Regions from separate parts of the Homo sapiens genome. Here regions 2, 3, 4 and 5 are each linked to region 1. The links are contacts of gene promoters, found by promoter capture Hi-C in blood cells and fetal thymus (Javierre and others, 2016). All regions are on one chromosome and are shown on one strand. Each heading gives the region's core, a stretch centred on a gene start or on the middle of the fragment in contact. The rest is flanking DNA. Distances are from core to core; before and after follow the strand shown. Region 1 holds the start of PRTFDC1 (phosphoribosyl transferase domain containing 1). Region 2 overlaps ARHGAP21 (Rho GTPase activating protein 21). Region 3 has its middle 7.6 kb from the start of ARHGAP21. Region 4 overlaps LOC105376456 (a long non-coding RNA gene). Region 5 has its middle 63 kb from the start of ARHGAP21.

Region 1 (2,887 bases), core at 273-2,772:
TCGGATACAATGATTCTTTTGCATTTGGTATGCGGGTCTCTGCCTGCAGTCCACATGGCTACTCCTGTGTACCCTTCAGATCTTGGCTCAAAGGTCACCGCAGAGAGGCTGCCCTGACCACCTGAGCAAAAGCATCACTCCCCCCTTCTCCTCCAATTACCCTCTATCCTGTTACCCTCCTCCTATTGCACATATCTCTATTTGAAATTTTCTCTATTTGTTTACACACTGCTTGCCTATGTCTTCTCTAGAACGCAAGCTCATGAAGACAAGGCCTTTGTCTTTTGCACCCCAGAGCCTACAGCACCTCCTACAACCCAGCAGGACAATAAACGTGTGGAATGAATAAATCAACTCCTCATCCTTTCAGAAGGAAAGGTCCTGCTGTTAAATTAAGCACTGAGCCCCACATTTCAACCTGACCCTTCTGTCTGAATGTGACACGTTTCCCTCCCCAGCCCACTTACTTTAGTTCAGGCCATTCATATTCATAAACAGATTATCTGTGAATGACAAGCTGATCCCTGGAAAGAGATGGCAAGTTAGCCCCACCCACCATCCTCACCACCATTGAGTTTCACACTGAACCTGACACAAGTTATAACCACCACCTTCTAGGAAAACCACTTCTCAGGGAGCAGGGAGGACGTGGCCACAAGGTCAAGAACGGGTTGGATCCTAGCACACTGAGAGATGGGTACCCTCTGGCTGACACCGTCAGGATTCTCAGGGTTAATGAGGCTCAGTTCTGGGAAACCAGCACCCCACACCCTCCCATCCGGACACACTGCTAGATATTTTACATGCATCCTCCCAATTGGCTCCAGAGCCCAGCTTGCTGTTGCTCCCTTTTACAGACAAGCCATAGGTCACTCAGGAGCCGCCAGCGTGTCCTAGAGCTCCTGCAGAGGCCTCCACTGCCAGAGAGCCCCCAACCTGGGTACCAAAGGCTTCAAATCTCAAGCTCTGTCCACTTGAGCTACTTTATTTCCTAGCTGCCTTCAAAACCCCTCAGTGTGCTTTTTAAAAACAAAACTTGAAGCCCGCCCTGGAGGAGTCAAGAGGAGACCCAGGAAGAAGGAGGCCTCCAGAGCAGCACGCGGGGGTCTCTGGGGCCCTGCCGGGCTCGCAGAAGCGACTCCCCGTGGCTCGCGGGGATGGGGACGGCTGGGCGCCGGCGGGACGCTGCAGGAGCGAGCTACCGGCCGGAGGACACGGGGGGACGCTGGGAACTCGGGGTGAAGGGACGGGACTCAGAGTTTCGTCAGATTGGGGGCGGGGAGAGGAGGCCCGGGTCCGAGGATGGAAGCGATCCCCGCCGGGAGGGAGAACAAAGCGGTGGCCCTCTCTCTCCCCCGACGCACGGCAAGCATTTAATCTACAAGCAGGGTGCCAGGGAGGGAGGGGAGCGGGCCGAGCCCCAAAATAGGGAGTTTGCATTTACCACGACGCCTCGCCCGTAGTCTGGCGCCTCCTCGCTGCTCCCGGCCATGTTTCTCCCGGGGAACGCGGGAAGGGAAGACGGCGCGGGAAGGAGCAGGGAGGGCGAAGGCTGCGTGGGGGATGGGACGTGGGGATGGGGACGGGGACGGGGACGGGGACGGGGACGGGGACGGGTCCGCCCCGCCCCGGGCCCGCCGGCGGGAAGCAGCGGCCTGACGCGGATCCATGGCCCCGGCGCTGCGCCCCCTCCCCTGGCTAGGCCGCGGGGGCGCGGGGAGCAGCTGCCAAGCCGCTACCGCTCCCCCTGAGCGCGGGCCCCGGACGCGTCCCTTGCGGCCGCCGCTGTCGCCGCCGCCCCCTGCCGGATGGTCGCGTGCAGCCCCCGGCCCCGCCGCCAAGCCCCGCGGGGACTCTGGAGCAGGAAGCCCGCGGCAGGAAGAGAACGTGTCCCCCAGGCCCCTGATTCCCAGATCCACCGTCCCAGCCCTCGGGCTAACAATCTCCTTGACTCCTCCCTGCCAGATTTCATGCACGCGATTGTCCCAAGCAGAAGCGTGAAAGAGCCTGTGAGCCAGCGTGCTCTTGGAGGATGGGAAGTGTCCTGGATGTGTTTTCAAACCTTGGAGCCGCCACCCACCTCTCTCCACCTCCGCTCATCTCCCTCCACCTCCCCTCACCTCCCTCCACCTCCCCTCACCTCCCTCCATCTTCCTCCACCTTTCTCCACCTTCCCCCACCTCCCTCATCCCAGGGCCTGGAGCTGGAAAGATTACACCCGATTGCTTTTAGGGTGGCCCGGATCTGCAGTGATCAGATCTGGGCTTTGAGGATCCAGCCTTTCGGCCTTTCGTCAACTGCATTCAGGGGAGGAGGGGGAGAGATTTTTACACATTCTCTGCTTTACCAGTTTTGCAAGAACATCTGGTCAGATTGTAATTGTTCCAGGTTGCAGCTTTACTAAAGCAATCGCTCTTTTCTGATTAGAAATCCTTCTTGTATGAGTCTGTTGTTCATTTCAACCCCTCTCACATGCCTATGCTCCGGTTCTTTGTCCACTCCTGTAGGTTCCTGCTTTTTCTGGGTGTGTCTTCATTCCCCAGGTCCCTGACATCTCACCAGCGTCTTCATTCACTCAGCCCAATTCGGGTCGAAGCCCTGAATCCAAGAGAACTTAACACAGTTTTCCTGATGCAGGCGTCTTTTGTTCATCTTCGAATTCTGGCACACAGAGGGGAGAGGAATGCTGATTTTGCCTAGTTTAAAGGGGAAATAGTTATCAATCGGTTAATGACGTTCTAGGTTGGAAAAATATTAGTCATTCAGACTTGGCGCCCTGGTCCTGCTCAGCAGGGCTGGCTCTTCATGTCGTTTCTAAGCGCCAGCGCCTTGGAGGGTGCAGCTCCAGAGATCCCTGAAATCAGGCATCTGCTTGGCAACTGCCTTA
Region 2 (2,887 bases), core at 124-2,623, 250 kb before region 1:
TCAGTACTGTGTATCTATCATTCCAGACATTCCTTTCATCTTTTCGTCCCCTTTCTGGCTCCTATTATCTCTTTTTCAGTCTACTTCTCTCCACTACTCCCTAAATTGGCCAGCAATTGGGAATGGGAGGGAAATATATAATTTACACATATATTTGCATATTATATCCATATAATTTTATTATTTACTCTAGATGTCTGATACATCTTTAGAATTATTATTATTATTATTATTTTTTTGAGATGGAGTCTCACTCGTCCCCCAGGCTGGCGTGCAATGGTGCGACCTTGGCTCATTGCAACCTCCACCTCCCAGGTTCAAGCGATTCTCCTGCCTCAGCCTCCCGAGTAGGTGGGATTACAGGCGCCTGCCACCATGCCCAGCTAATTTTTGTATTTTTAGTAGAGATAGGGTTTCACCATGTTGGCCAGGCTGGTCTCCAACTCCTGACCTCAGGTGATCGGCTCACCTCGGCCTCCCAAAGTGCTGGGATTACAGGCATGAGTCACCGTGCCCGGCCTAGAATTACTAGTTTTAAAAGCTGATGACTAGAACACTACATTATATCCTTCGGTAAAGAGAAGGCATCAAGCACCCAGACTTTGGAGTCTCACTCCCTGGGCCTGCGTGCTGCTCTGCACCTTCTTAGCTATGTGGCCCCGACAAGAGACTTAAGCCCTTGTTTATCAGCTTCTTCGTCTGTAAAATGGGAATGTGATATTCATAGCATCTCTGTAGAGTTGGTTAAATAGTCTGACACATAGTTAAGTACTCACTAAATATTACCTATTCTTCATCACTCACAAAATATTCAACTAACGTTCCTGCGGCATTTTTCATCATTTTAGAAGCTTGCTGTGAGGGGCAGAGAGAGGTGTTTTTTTTCCTCCCCTGCTGAAGGCCAATAGCTGTGATAGCTGCAATTCTGAAGCTTAGGTCAATGGTTCTCCAATACTGCTGGTGAAATACAGAAGCGGTCTGGCTGGATTTCTCCTAACAATGGTTAATAGGCCTCTGTCCTTTAATTCCCGTCCCCTTGCTCTCACCTGCAAGATCCACCTGTGGAAAACCAGCCATCTGTGCATTTTGGCAATGCCCGTTGTGTCCCTGCACATATTAGTGTCTCTGCTCATCCCATATGCACCCTGCCCACCAGCAAGGTTTCCCTGTGCCATTTCCAGCTGATGTCTTATACACAAGGTGATGAGTGTGGAAGTGCGCCGCAAGCACGTGCAGAGAGAGCACTCACACAGCACACCCACAACGCTACAGAGAGGCTGGCCTGGAGGTCAAGCCAGGAAAAAAGCCAATTTAAAGTATTACACCTAGGCAAGGCAAAACCCTCGGAGTTCTCAGCCTAAAGTCCAATTTCCAGGCTCCCTAACTGATTAAAATAATAAGAATTAAAGATGGTTTCGATTTTTCCATTTATGTTAACAATGAAATATAAAACATGAAAAATTGAGGCTTTTCTTTATGATTAGGTATTCTGGATTAATTTAGGATCTTATCCAGTGGTTGCAAAAAAGAAGTACCATTTAGCCACTTAGAATTTTTCTACATAATTATTTAAATAATATGGTAAGTGGTAACACCATAATACTTTGCATTTGTCCTAATTTTTAAAAGGATGATACAATGTAAAGTAATATTTAAAGAAAAACAAATTAAGTACCTCTCAAAAATAACCTTTAACTCTCTTTTGGCCATTGAAGGCAGAGCTTTAATGTGTGGAAGAATCACCTGACGATCTTGTTAAACTGCAAATTCTGATTCCCTAAAGTCTAGAGTGAGACCAGAACATCCGCATTTCTTACAAGCTTCCCGGAGTGTAGATACTGCTGGTCAGTTCATAGACCACACTTAAAGTAGCAAGAATTTAAGGTACCTTAAGTGTCAAAAGGCCTATTTCCAATTTCCTAGCTTATCAACGTAAAGCCTCCGTCTACTGGTGTTAGAAGCAGCTGCTGATTTTAACAGCTCTAAGGAACAGAGAACTAGGACACAATTTAACAAAACAGGAGGAGCGGAGGAGGAAGACAAGAGGAAGGAGCTTCAGGGAGAAAGCAGTAAAAATTAAAAAAAAAAATGCTCTATGCAGCCTCTCTTTCCCTCTTCCATTTGGTTTCCCCAGGGAGAGAGGGAACTTCACTAAGCTTGAGGCCTCTTTGGTGTGGGTATCTCCTTGTCGTTTCCAGTTCGAAGGATCCAATCTAGGATTCCTCCGGCTCTTCTTTCCTGAAATGGACTTATACAAAATGAGATTTCCATTAAATAATAAAAATTTCCAATCATTTTACAACCTTCTTTCAAAGAAAAAAAAAAGTGCCTTCTTTAATGGCATGATTGTTTTTCCCTTTGTAATATCTTAAATTGGAACAGAACATTTCTCTGAGAAGGGAACATGTGAATAGAACCCTAAAGAAAGCAAAGCAGCAGGCTATGCAGAGATCTGAAATGAAAGTATTTCAGGAAGTGGGAACGGTGAGTGCAAAGGCCCTGAGATGAACAGCAAAGGAGGCCAGTGTGGTTAGAGAAGAATGACTAGGGTTTGAAAAGGAAGTAGAAACAGGGTACTGGAGATAATGAAAGAAGGGAACAAAATCTCTTCAGGCCCTTGGCTTTTATGCTAATATGGGCAGCCTCTGGTGGACTCTGGTAGAATACCATGTTCATGTTCTGATGTTTAAAATGATCATACTCGATGCTGAGCTGAAAACAGACCGCAGGCTGTATACAAGTATCTACAGAAGTGATAATGCCAGGATCTCCCATGCTTGATGCTCCCCAGTATTCCTTCTGAGTTCCCTATGTATGTGGCTGTGTAATAACAGCTGTCATTGGACTTGAAGGAAACCAAGAACTGGGATTATGTGATATGCCATAT
Region 3 (2,887 bases), core at 136-2,635, 220 kb before region 1:
TACAAAAATTAGCTGGGCATGGTGGCACGGTCCTGTAATCCCAGCTTACTCAGGAGGCTGAGACAGGAGAATTGCTTGAACCTGGGAGGCAGGGCCAAGCCTGGTTGACAGAGTGACACTCCATCTCAAATAAATAAATAAATAAACTTCACTGCCAGCGATTTAGCTGTTTTTCAGCCATAAGACCATCCTAAAAATTAATATCACTTACATTTTGGTAGAAACTATAAAATTTCACCCCAAAGCTTATCCATAATCATATATCAAAAGTTTTCTTTAGATCCAAATTATTATTCAGCATTAGAATTTCCATAATTAAAATTTAGTGGTATGCTAGTCATAGTCATCAACATTGTTAAGTTTATTTATATGTTTTAAGAAAAAATATGAATAAAAAATCCATGTGCAAGTTTTTATTTTATCCTAAGAATCGTGACTTTCATTTATAAGTATTCCAACTTTCCTTAAAAATATGAGACTAGTTTTTAAAATGTTTCCACCCACCCAACTAAATATGAGTTGGAACATTGTGAAAATACAGTGCAATCTGGAGAAACCCATATTACAACTGGAGAATTGAAATATGTTTTTATCATTTTGGAATAGAATGCTAAATTCCAAACATTTTAACTAGGAAACTGTGCTAGCAGTTGATTTTTAATATCATAGGCCTAATCCAAAGTAATCAAATCTTTTCATCAAAAAAAATAAAAAGTTCTAGCCTTCCCTTTCATTGTCATTGAGCAGAATCAGGAAAGACACCTAAAGACTTCTCTATTCCTTGATTCAAGAAACTCTGAGTATCTTTCAATATTGTCTAGCACTGTAGATTCCATTCCTCTATCCCTATAATTGCTTGCATTCCTTATTAATCCAAAAGTCAACTAACCAAGGCTTCTTCCCTCAGATAGGAAAAGATCGCAGGGCAATATGTGGTAATTCACATCTGGGCTTAAGTAGGATAGATGGCAGGCTTACATAACCTTTCTCCTCAAAGATTTTTTCAATTATATTTTAATTTTTAAAAATTACGAAGTAAAAAAGAAAAAAACAAACACTAAAACTATGAAGGGGCCCAATCTCATACCACATTTTACGAACCCATTCTCATGCCTCCTTCCAGCTTTCTTCTGTGGCTCCTCATTGCTTGAATCCAACAAGAAGCCTGGGGTCCTCAAAGATAATTCATCCACCCTGTTTCTTTCAATATAAATAGAAATTTTAGATAGTAAATATTCATCAAAGATGAATGAAAAGGAAATAAGACTGACATAAACATTTTAAATTGTGATATTGGGGAAGAGATGAAATAAAGGAATATATTCTAAAAAGAAAAGATATATTATGGAAGAAGATTAACCCCAGTAAGCAGAAGAAATATAGAGACAAATGTTTCATACCCCGAAGAAAATAAAATATATCAAAAGTGAAATCACAAGAGAATGAATGAAATATAAAAGATGTTAGAATGGCTAAGAGAAGGTATTGAGAGGGAAAAATCATACCGTTGCAGAAATAATACATGAATTAGAAATAAGAAGAAATAAGAAATGTCTGGCCGGGCACAGTGGCTCATGCCTGTAATCCTAGCACAGAGGCCAAGGTGGGAGGATCACTTGAGCCTGGGAATTCAAGACCAGCCTGGGCAACACAGTGAGACCTCATCTCTATTTTTAAAAAATAAAAATAAGAAATATCTAGCAGAAAATTGTGGGATGGATGACAGATTTGTTTTAAAGCACATCAAATACAAAGGAAAAGGACAAAGATTAAAGTGATTAGACAGGAGATGAAAAATATAGAAGACAACAGAAATCTGATTTAGAGAAATTGATGTCTCTGACAGAATTTACAACTAATGAAACTAAAAAAAATTTTTTTCAAAGATATACTATGGTAGCCTGCTAAATGTTCCCCCAAATCTGTTCTCTCCTTCTCCTATAATAGTAGTATTTTAGTTAGGCACCTGGTTAACAAGCTAGACTTTCTATCTAGGTGTGTCTAGGTGTGGCCATGACTAAATTCTAGGCAATGAAATGTGGGCAGGAATGATTGTGTGTCACTCTGGAAGTCTTCCCTTAAAAGGCTTAGATCTGTGCCTTCCTAGACCCTTCCCCGATTCACAGTGACTGGAGGTAGGGTTGCCAAGTTTAGCAAATAAAAACAATGAGCACACAGTTCAATTTGAACATCAGATAAACAACAGATAACTTTTTAGTATAAAAAAGCCTCATTCAAATTGGTGTTTGAAACCAAAAAAAAAAAAAAGAAAAGAAAAATGTTGCAGGCAATAAACAAATCAGATTTTAGTGTGTGTCTCATTAAAAAAAAAACTGTTGGGCATAGTGGCTCACACCTGTAATCCAACACTTTGGGAGGCCGAGGCATAAGGATTTTTTGAGCCCAGGAATTCAAGACCAGCCTGGTCAACATAATTAGACCTATCTCTACAAAAACATTTAAAAATTACCTGGGTGTTGTAGCTAATTTTTAGCCCAAGCTATTCTTGAACTCCCAGCCTCAAGCAAGCTTCACACCTTAGTCTCCCAAAGTTCTGGGATTACAGGCATGAGCCACTGCACCCAGCCTTTCAGCTGCTTTTAAATGTGAATGACCACATGATTCAATCTTTAAGTCACATTATTTGTTTTCTTCAAAATTTTTCTTATCAATTAATGCTGAGAAAAATTTTTAGGTGAGTAATGGTTTTCTTTTGGGTCAGGGATCATTAAACTTTTTCTGTAAAGGGCCAGATAGATAATATTTTAGGCTTTGCAGTGCCACGCGACCTCTGTTGCAACTACTCAACTCTGCTGTTACAGTACTAAAGCAGGGATGGACAACGTATAAATGAATGAATGTGGCTGTTTCTATAAAACTTGATAAC
Region 4 (2,887 bases), core at 198-2,697, 190 kb before region 1:
CATAATGTATCCAGATATTTGGTCAGACATTATTTCATGTATGTCTGTAAAGGTATTTCTGGATGAGATTAACATTTGAATTGGTAAACTGAATAAATCAGACTGCCCTCTCCAATGTGAGTGGCCATTATCCAATCTGTTGAAGGCCTGAATAGAACAAAAAGGCTGGGTAATAGAAAACTCCTTCTGCTTGACTGCATTCAAGCTGTGACATTGTTTTTTTCCCTGCCTTCGGACTTGAATTGAAACATGTACTCTTCCTGTGTCTTAAGCCTGTTTGGCTTTGGGACTGGAACTCCATACACCATTGGCTCTCCTGGGTCTCCAGCTTGCTGACGGCCAACTTTGGGACTTGTCAGCCTCCATAATTGCATAAGCCAATTCCTTATAATAAATCTTTTTTTGTACACATCCTATTTGATGTGGTTTGGCTCTGTGTCCCCACTCAAATCTCATGTCAAATTGTAATTCCCAGTGTTGGTGGAGGGGCCTGGCGGGAGGTGATTGGATCATGGGGATGGTTTCTAATGGTTTAGCATCATCCTCCAGTGCTGTCTCATGATGGAGTTCTTACGAGATCTGGTTGTTTGAAAGTGTCTAGCACTTCCCCCTTCACTCTCTCTCTTCCTCCTGCTCTGGCCATGTAAGATGTGCCGGTTTCCCCTTTGCCTTCTGCCATGATTGTAAGTTTCCTGAGGCCTCCCCAGCCATGCCTCCTGTACAGCCTGTAGAACTATGAGTCAATTAAACCTCTTTTCTTCATAAATTACCCAGTCTCATGTAGTTCTTTATAGCCGTGTGGGAATGGACTAATACACTATTGGTTCTGTTTCTCTGAGGAACCCTGACTGATACAGCACCCCTATTGGGATTCTTCCAGTTTTGACCCTCTGCCTTTGAAACTTTATGCATGGAGTCTATACCTGCAATATACTACCACCAGCCTTCCAGAGCACTACTTTCTGCCCAATCAGTCTTTGGTTGTTACCTCTGAATTGTAAAAACTGATAATGAAATTGGCTAACATTAATAGGAACATATTCTGACTCAAAGATTATGCTAAGGATTTTACATCTACTGTCCTAGTTAATGTAACAATATAGAAAGATATGGGGGGATGGGAGAGTGAGGTGAAGAATAAGAAGAAAGAATCAGGCTGGGCACAGTGGCTCACACCTTTAATCCCAATACCTTGGGAGGCTGAGGAGGGAGGATCACTTGAGGCCAGCAGTTCAGGACCAGCCTGGGCAGCATAGCAAGACCTCATCTCTAAAAACAGTTAGCCAGGCATCCAAGATCAGGTGCTGGCAGAAAAAAAAAAAAAGAAGAAGAAGAATAATCAGTGAATCAGTGCTGTGGCTGCCACATAATTTGGGATCTATGAGCAATATACTCTCTGCCCAATATTCCAATTGCTGCAGAATCTCTGAATGCAAGAATAACAGGGCTGATAAAAAAAAGTGCTCCTACATCTTTTCAGGCGAGTTAGGTATACTGTGAAGCAATGTCTGAGTGATTTTCTCAGTCAAGTTAGACCGTAAGCTCTGTAAAGGCCAATAGCATGATGGTATTTGTCCACTGTGTATTCCTAGTACCTAGCAAGGTACTTGGCACAGAATAAGTGTTCAAAATTTCCCATTAATGTTTGCCAAATCTAATTTTCAGTTAATAAAGACTCACCCCAGATTCTGATAAGTTGTATATGTCTTAATTTTCCTTGTGTTAATTTTTCTTCTTTTTTTCTGTAGTTTCATAGCTATTTTAGTGGACAATTGGGAGACACTTTATATACGTTTAAACCAGAAGTCACTTTAATGAGTTTTAAACATTGTGTCAAAGCTCAGGAATGGCTCTACTAAAAGTCAATAATCGTATATATTTCATAAATTGAATTAGTTGATTAATGCATAAGAGTTGAAAATATCAAAGAGAAATATTATTTTATGACCCTGAGTAAATATTTCCATTGCTCGGAACCCTTTTCCTTATCTGTACAATGAAGAAAATTACAGACACCCTAAGGTTTGTTATATATATGTGCATAGGGGTGAAGGGACTAACATAATGTATGTAAAACTGCTTTGCAAATGTGAAATCCTAGATATTTTGTTTTATTTTATTTTATTTTATTTTTTGAGACAAAGTCTTGCTCTGTCGCCCAGGCTGGAGTGCAATGGTGCGATCTCAGCTCACTGCAACCTCTGCCTCCCGAGTTCAAGTGATTCTCAAGCCTCAGCCTCCCAAGAAGCTGGGATTACAGGCACATGCCATCACACCCGGCTAATTTTTGCATTTTTAGTAGAGATGGGGTTTCACCACGGTAGTGTCTAACTCCTGTCCTCAAACAATCCACCCGCCTTGGCCTCCCAAAGTGCTGGGATTACAGGCATGAGCCACCGCGCCTAGTCAAAAGCCTATATATTTTAGATGTTTTGGTTGTTATCTTTATTGTTTTCTGCCTTGTGTGCTAATCTACATATATCTTTTTTAAAAAAAAAAAACTCCAACCACATATTTCACTCTGTCACTGCCAGAAGCAACAGTACAGTATTATACTCTCCAATTTCTCTACCAGATTCAAGGGTTATGGCCTCTTTGGCAGGGAGAGAGTTACTGTCAGGAAAATCTTACTGTTGGATCCAGGACAAACCATTAAACAGTTGCATAAGTCTTTGTCAGCTTGGAGTTGTTGTTCTGCAGGTGTTTTGCTATGTTGACACAGCTCATGTTTGCCCTGTTTTACTTATTGCTCTTTCTTTTGGAGGAAATCATAGAGAAAACAGGACTCAAACCACAAACGGAAACAGTTTATCTGTTTAGCTGTTGAACTCCCCGGGAAAGAAGAAAGAAATCAGTTAAGAGATGCATGAGTGAATCTTTTTAAAAA
Region 5 (2,887 bases), core at 195-2,694, 170 kb before region 1:
GCTCTGGAACTGTGTCCTGGGATGTGGGTGAGAAAACCCTAAGAAGCTCTAAAGTTAAATACCCTAACATATATATATGTTAAATATTCTAGCATCTGAGAGGTTAAGTAAATATCCTAGCATCCCAGAGGGTTAGGGCTCAGAGAATATGTGATTTTAAAAATTACATATACATGTGTATATATAATTTTTTGTCCAGGTGAAATGACATATGTATATATACATATATATGTATATACATACATATATATATAATTTTAAAAATCACATATTCTCTGAGCCCTAACCCTCTGGGATGCTAGGATATTTACTTAACCTCTCAGATACTAGAATAGTATATATATATATATATGTCTATACATATATATATGTCTATACACACACACATATATATGTCTAGACATATATATATATATATATATATGCCTGTAATCCCAGCCTGGCCTCAACTTGCATTTTTAAGCTTTAATGCTGTCATTATTGCTTCCCACCTTATAAGGCAGATACTTTTTTTCTTTGAGATAGTCTCGCTCTGTTGCTCAAGCTGGAGTGCAATGGCATGATCTCAGCTCACGGCAACCTCCGCCTGTTGGGTTCAAGCGATTCTCCCATCTCAGCCTCCCGAGTAGCTGGGATTACAGGTGCCCACCACCACGCACGGCTAATTTTTGTATTTTTTATTTTAGTAGAGACAAGGTTTCACCATGTTGGCCAGGCTGGTCTTGAACTCCTGACCTTAAGTGATCTGAGTGCATTGGTCTCCAAAAGTGTTGGGATTACAGGCGTGAACCACTGCGCCGGGCCAAGCAAGCACTTAAATTTTTTTTTTTTAATTATTATTATTTTTCGAGGATGGAGTCTCACTCTGTCATCCAGGCTGGAGTGCAGTGGTGTGATCTCGGCTCACTGCACCCTTTCCCTCCCAGATTCAAGCACTTCTCCTGCCTCAGCCTCCTGAGTAGCTGGGATTACAGGCACCCACAACCACACCTGGCTCATTTTTGTATTTTTAGTATAGACGGGGTTTCGCCATGTTGGCCAGGCTGGTCTTGAACTTCTGACCTCAAGTGATCCACCCATCTCGGCCTCCCAGAGTGCTGGGATTACAGGTGTGAGACACCATGCCTGGCCAAGGCAGGCATATTTAAAAGGCAAATTTCCTGGAGATATTCTACTTTTGGAATCTTAATTGTAGCCTAAGACTATAGGAGTATGTAGGGCACAAAAGACCTGGGTCTAACAGGGTTAATCTCTTCCTGAAATTTCTCCAGTCCCGCGTTTCCATAAGAGGGTCAGCAAATAAAAGGAGAGAGAGAAACTTCTGGAAGGTCTGCTGCTGCTGCTGCTCCTGGGACAGAAAGGGAACCCAAGGGTATCTAGTTTAAGATGATGCCAGCAACCCAGTCAGATGTGAGAATCAGCCGAGCCAGCCAGTGGTCCTGGGCATCGTGGCTAGAGGCAGAAATTCCAGCTCTACTGCAAAACTTCTCCTGGCGTAAGGAGGAATCTACTACAGTCATGCACTGCATAATGATGCTTCTGTCGAGACAGACTACAGATACAGGGGTGGCCCCATAAGATTACAATGCAGTTGGCTGGGTACAAGTGGCTCAGGCCTGTAATCCCAGCACTTTGGGAGGCCAAGGGGGGCAGATCTCTTGAGGTCAGGCGTTTGAGACCAGCCTGGCCAACAAGGCGAAACCCTGTCTCTACTAAAAATACAAAAATTAGCCTGATGTGGCAGTGGGTGTCTGTAATCCCAGCTACTTGGGAGGCTGAGGCAGGAGAATCGCTTGAACCCGGGAGGTGGACGTTGTAGTGAGCCGAGATGGTGCCACTGCACTTTAGCCTGGGTGACAGGGCAAGACTCTGTCTCAAAAACAAAACAAAACAAAACAAAAACAAAACCCCAAAAAACAAGGTTACAATGCAGTTGAAAAACTCCTATCGCTAGTGGCATCGTCACTGTCATAACGTTGTAGCGCACTACGTGTTACTCACGTGTTTGTGGTGATGCTGGTGTCAACAAAACTGTTGTACTGCCAGTCATATACAAGGTTAGCGCATATAATATTTGCTAATAAATAATTATGTTACTGGGTTATATACTTACTATACTATACTTTTTATCGTTATTTGAGCTTGTACTCCTACTTATTTTTAAAAAGTTAACTGTAAAACAGCCTTGGGAAGGGTCTTCAGGAAGTATTCCAGGAGAAGGCATTGTCATCACAGGACATGAGCGCTCTATGTATGTTACTGCACCTGAAGACCTTCCAGTGGGACAAAATGTGGAGGTGGAAGACAGTGATGTTGGTGATCCTGACCCTGTGTAGGCCAAGGCTAATGTCTGGTTGTGTCTTAGTTTTTAATAAAAAAAGTTTAAAAAGTAAAACAATAAAAATTAAAAAATATAAAAATAGAGAAAAGCTTATAGAATAAAGATATAAAGAAAGAAAATAGGCCAGGCACGGTGGCTAATGCCTATAATCCCAGCAGCTTGGGAGGCTGAGGTGGGCAGATCACTTGAGGCCAGGAGTTTGAGACCAGCCTGGCCAACACGGTGAAGCCCTGTCTCTACGAACAATACAAAAATTAGCCGATCGTGGTGGCAGGCGTCTGTAGTCCCAGCTACTTGGGAGGCTAAGTCACAAGAATCGCTTGAACCTGGGAGGCAGAGGTTGCAGTGACCTGAGATGGCACCACTGCACTCCAGCCTGGGCAACAGAGCACGAGTCTGTCTCAACAGAAAAAAAGAAAGATACTTTTATACAGCTGTAAAATGTATTTGTTTTAAGCAGCATTATTGCAAAAAGTCTAAAAGTTTTAAAAATCTAGTTTATAAAATAAAAAAAGTTATAGTAAGCTAAGAGTAAATTATTGAAGA

The links. Contacts are between HindIII fragments. The CHiCAGO score rates a contact against its expected background, and 5 or more counts as called.
Region 2: a contact is called between a fragment that was not itself captured here and the fragment with the promoter of PRTFDC1 in region 1, in 11 of 17 cell types (activated CD4 T cells, non-activated CD4 T cells, total CD4 T cells and 8 more). The highest score is 10.4, in activated CD4 T cells.
Region 3: a fragment that was not itself captured here is called in contact with the fragment with the promoter of PRTFDC1 in region 1 in 13 of 17 cell types (non-activated CD4 T cells, naive CD8 T cells, activated CD4 T cells and 10 more); the score reaches 15.3 in non-activated CD4 T cells.
Region 4: a fragment that was not itself captured here is called in contact with the fragment with the promoter of PRTFDC1 in region 1 in 2 of 17 cell types (naive CD8 T cells and activated CD4 T cells); the score reaches 5.4 in naive CD8 T cells.
Region 5: a fragment that was not itself captured here is called in contact with the fragment with the promoter of PRTFDC1 in region 1 in 1 of 17 cell types (non-activated CD4 T cells); the score reaches 6.7 in non-activated CD4 T cells.

Annotation. Positions count from the first base shown.
Region 1 is chr10:24,951,084-24,953,970 of GRCh38, forward strand. PRTFDC1 (phosphoribosyl transferase domain containing 1) reads right to left here and starts at 1,523. Exons shown (of 9, transcript NM_020200.7): 1 at 1,445-1,523. The coding sequence starts at 1,492. It also overlaps a transcript of THNSL1 not described here. RefSeq lists a silencer at 1,684-1,873. The HindIII fragment of the contact is 20,553 bases long and covers 1-2,887 here.
Region 2 is chr10:24,699,105-24,701,991 of GRCh38, forward strand. All of the region lies in intron 2 of ARHGAP21 (Rho GTPase activating protein 21), which reads right to left. Among named protein-coding and RNA genes, the nearest start is that of ARHGAP21, 23 kb to the right of the region's middle. The HindIII fragment of the contact is 889 bases long and covers 930-1,818 here.
Region 3 is chr10:24,730,087-24,732,973 of GRCh38, forward strand. No RefSeq gene overlaps it. Among named protein-coding and RNA genes, the nearest start is that of ARHGAP21, 7.6 kb to the left of the region's middle. The HindIII fragment of the contact is 2,284 bases long and covers 244-2,527 here.
Region 4 is chr10:24,759,667-24,762,553 of GRCh38, forward strand. The region is part of intron 2 of LOC105376456 (a long non-coding RNA gene); the gene reads right to left. Among named protein-coding and RNA genes, the nearest start is that of ARHGAP21, 37 kb to the left of the region's middle. RefSeq lists a silencer at 2,681-2,881. The HindIII fragment of the contact is 3,716 bases long and covers 1-2,887 here.
Region 5 is chr10:24,785,646-24,788,532 of GRCh38, forward strand. No RefSeq gene overlaps it. Among named protein-coding and RNA genes, the nearest start is that of ARHGAP21, 63 kb to the left of the region's middle. The HindIII fragment of the contact is 1,967 bases long and covers 462-2,428 here.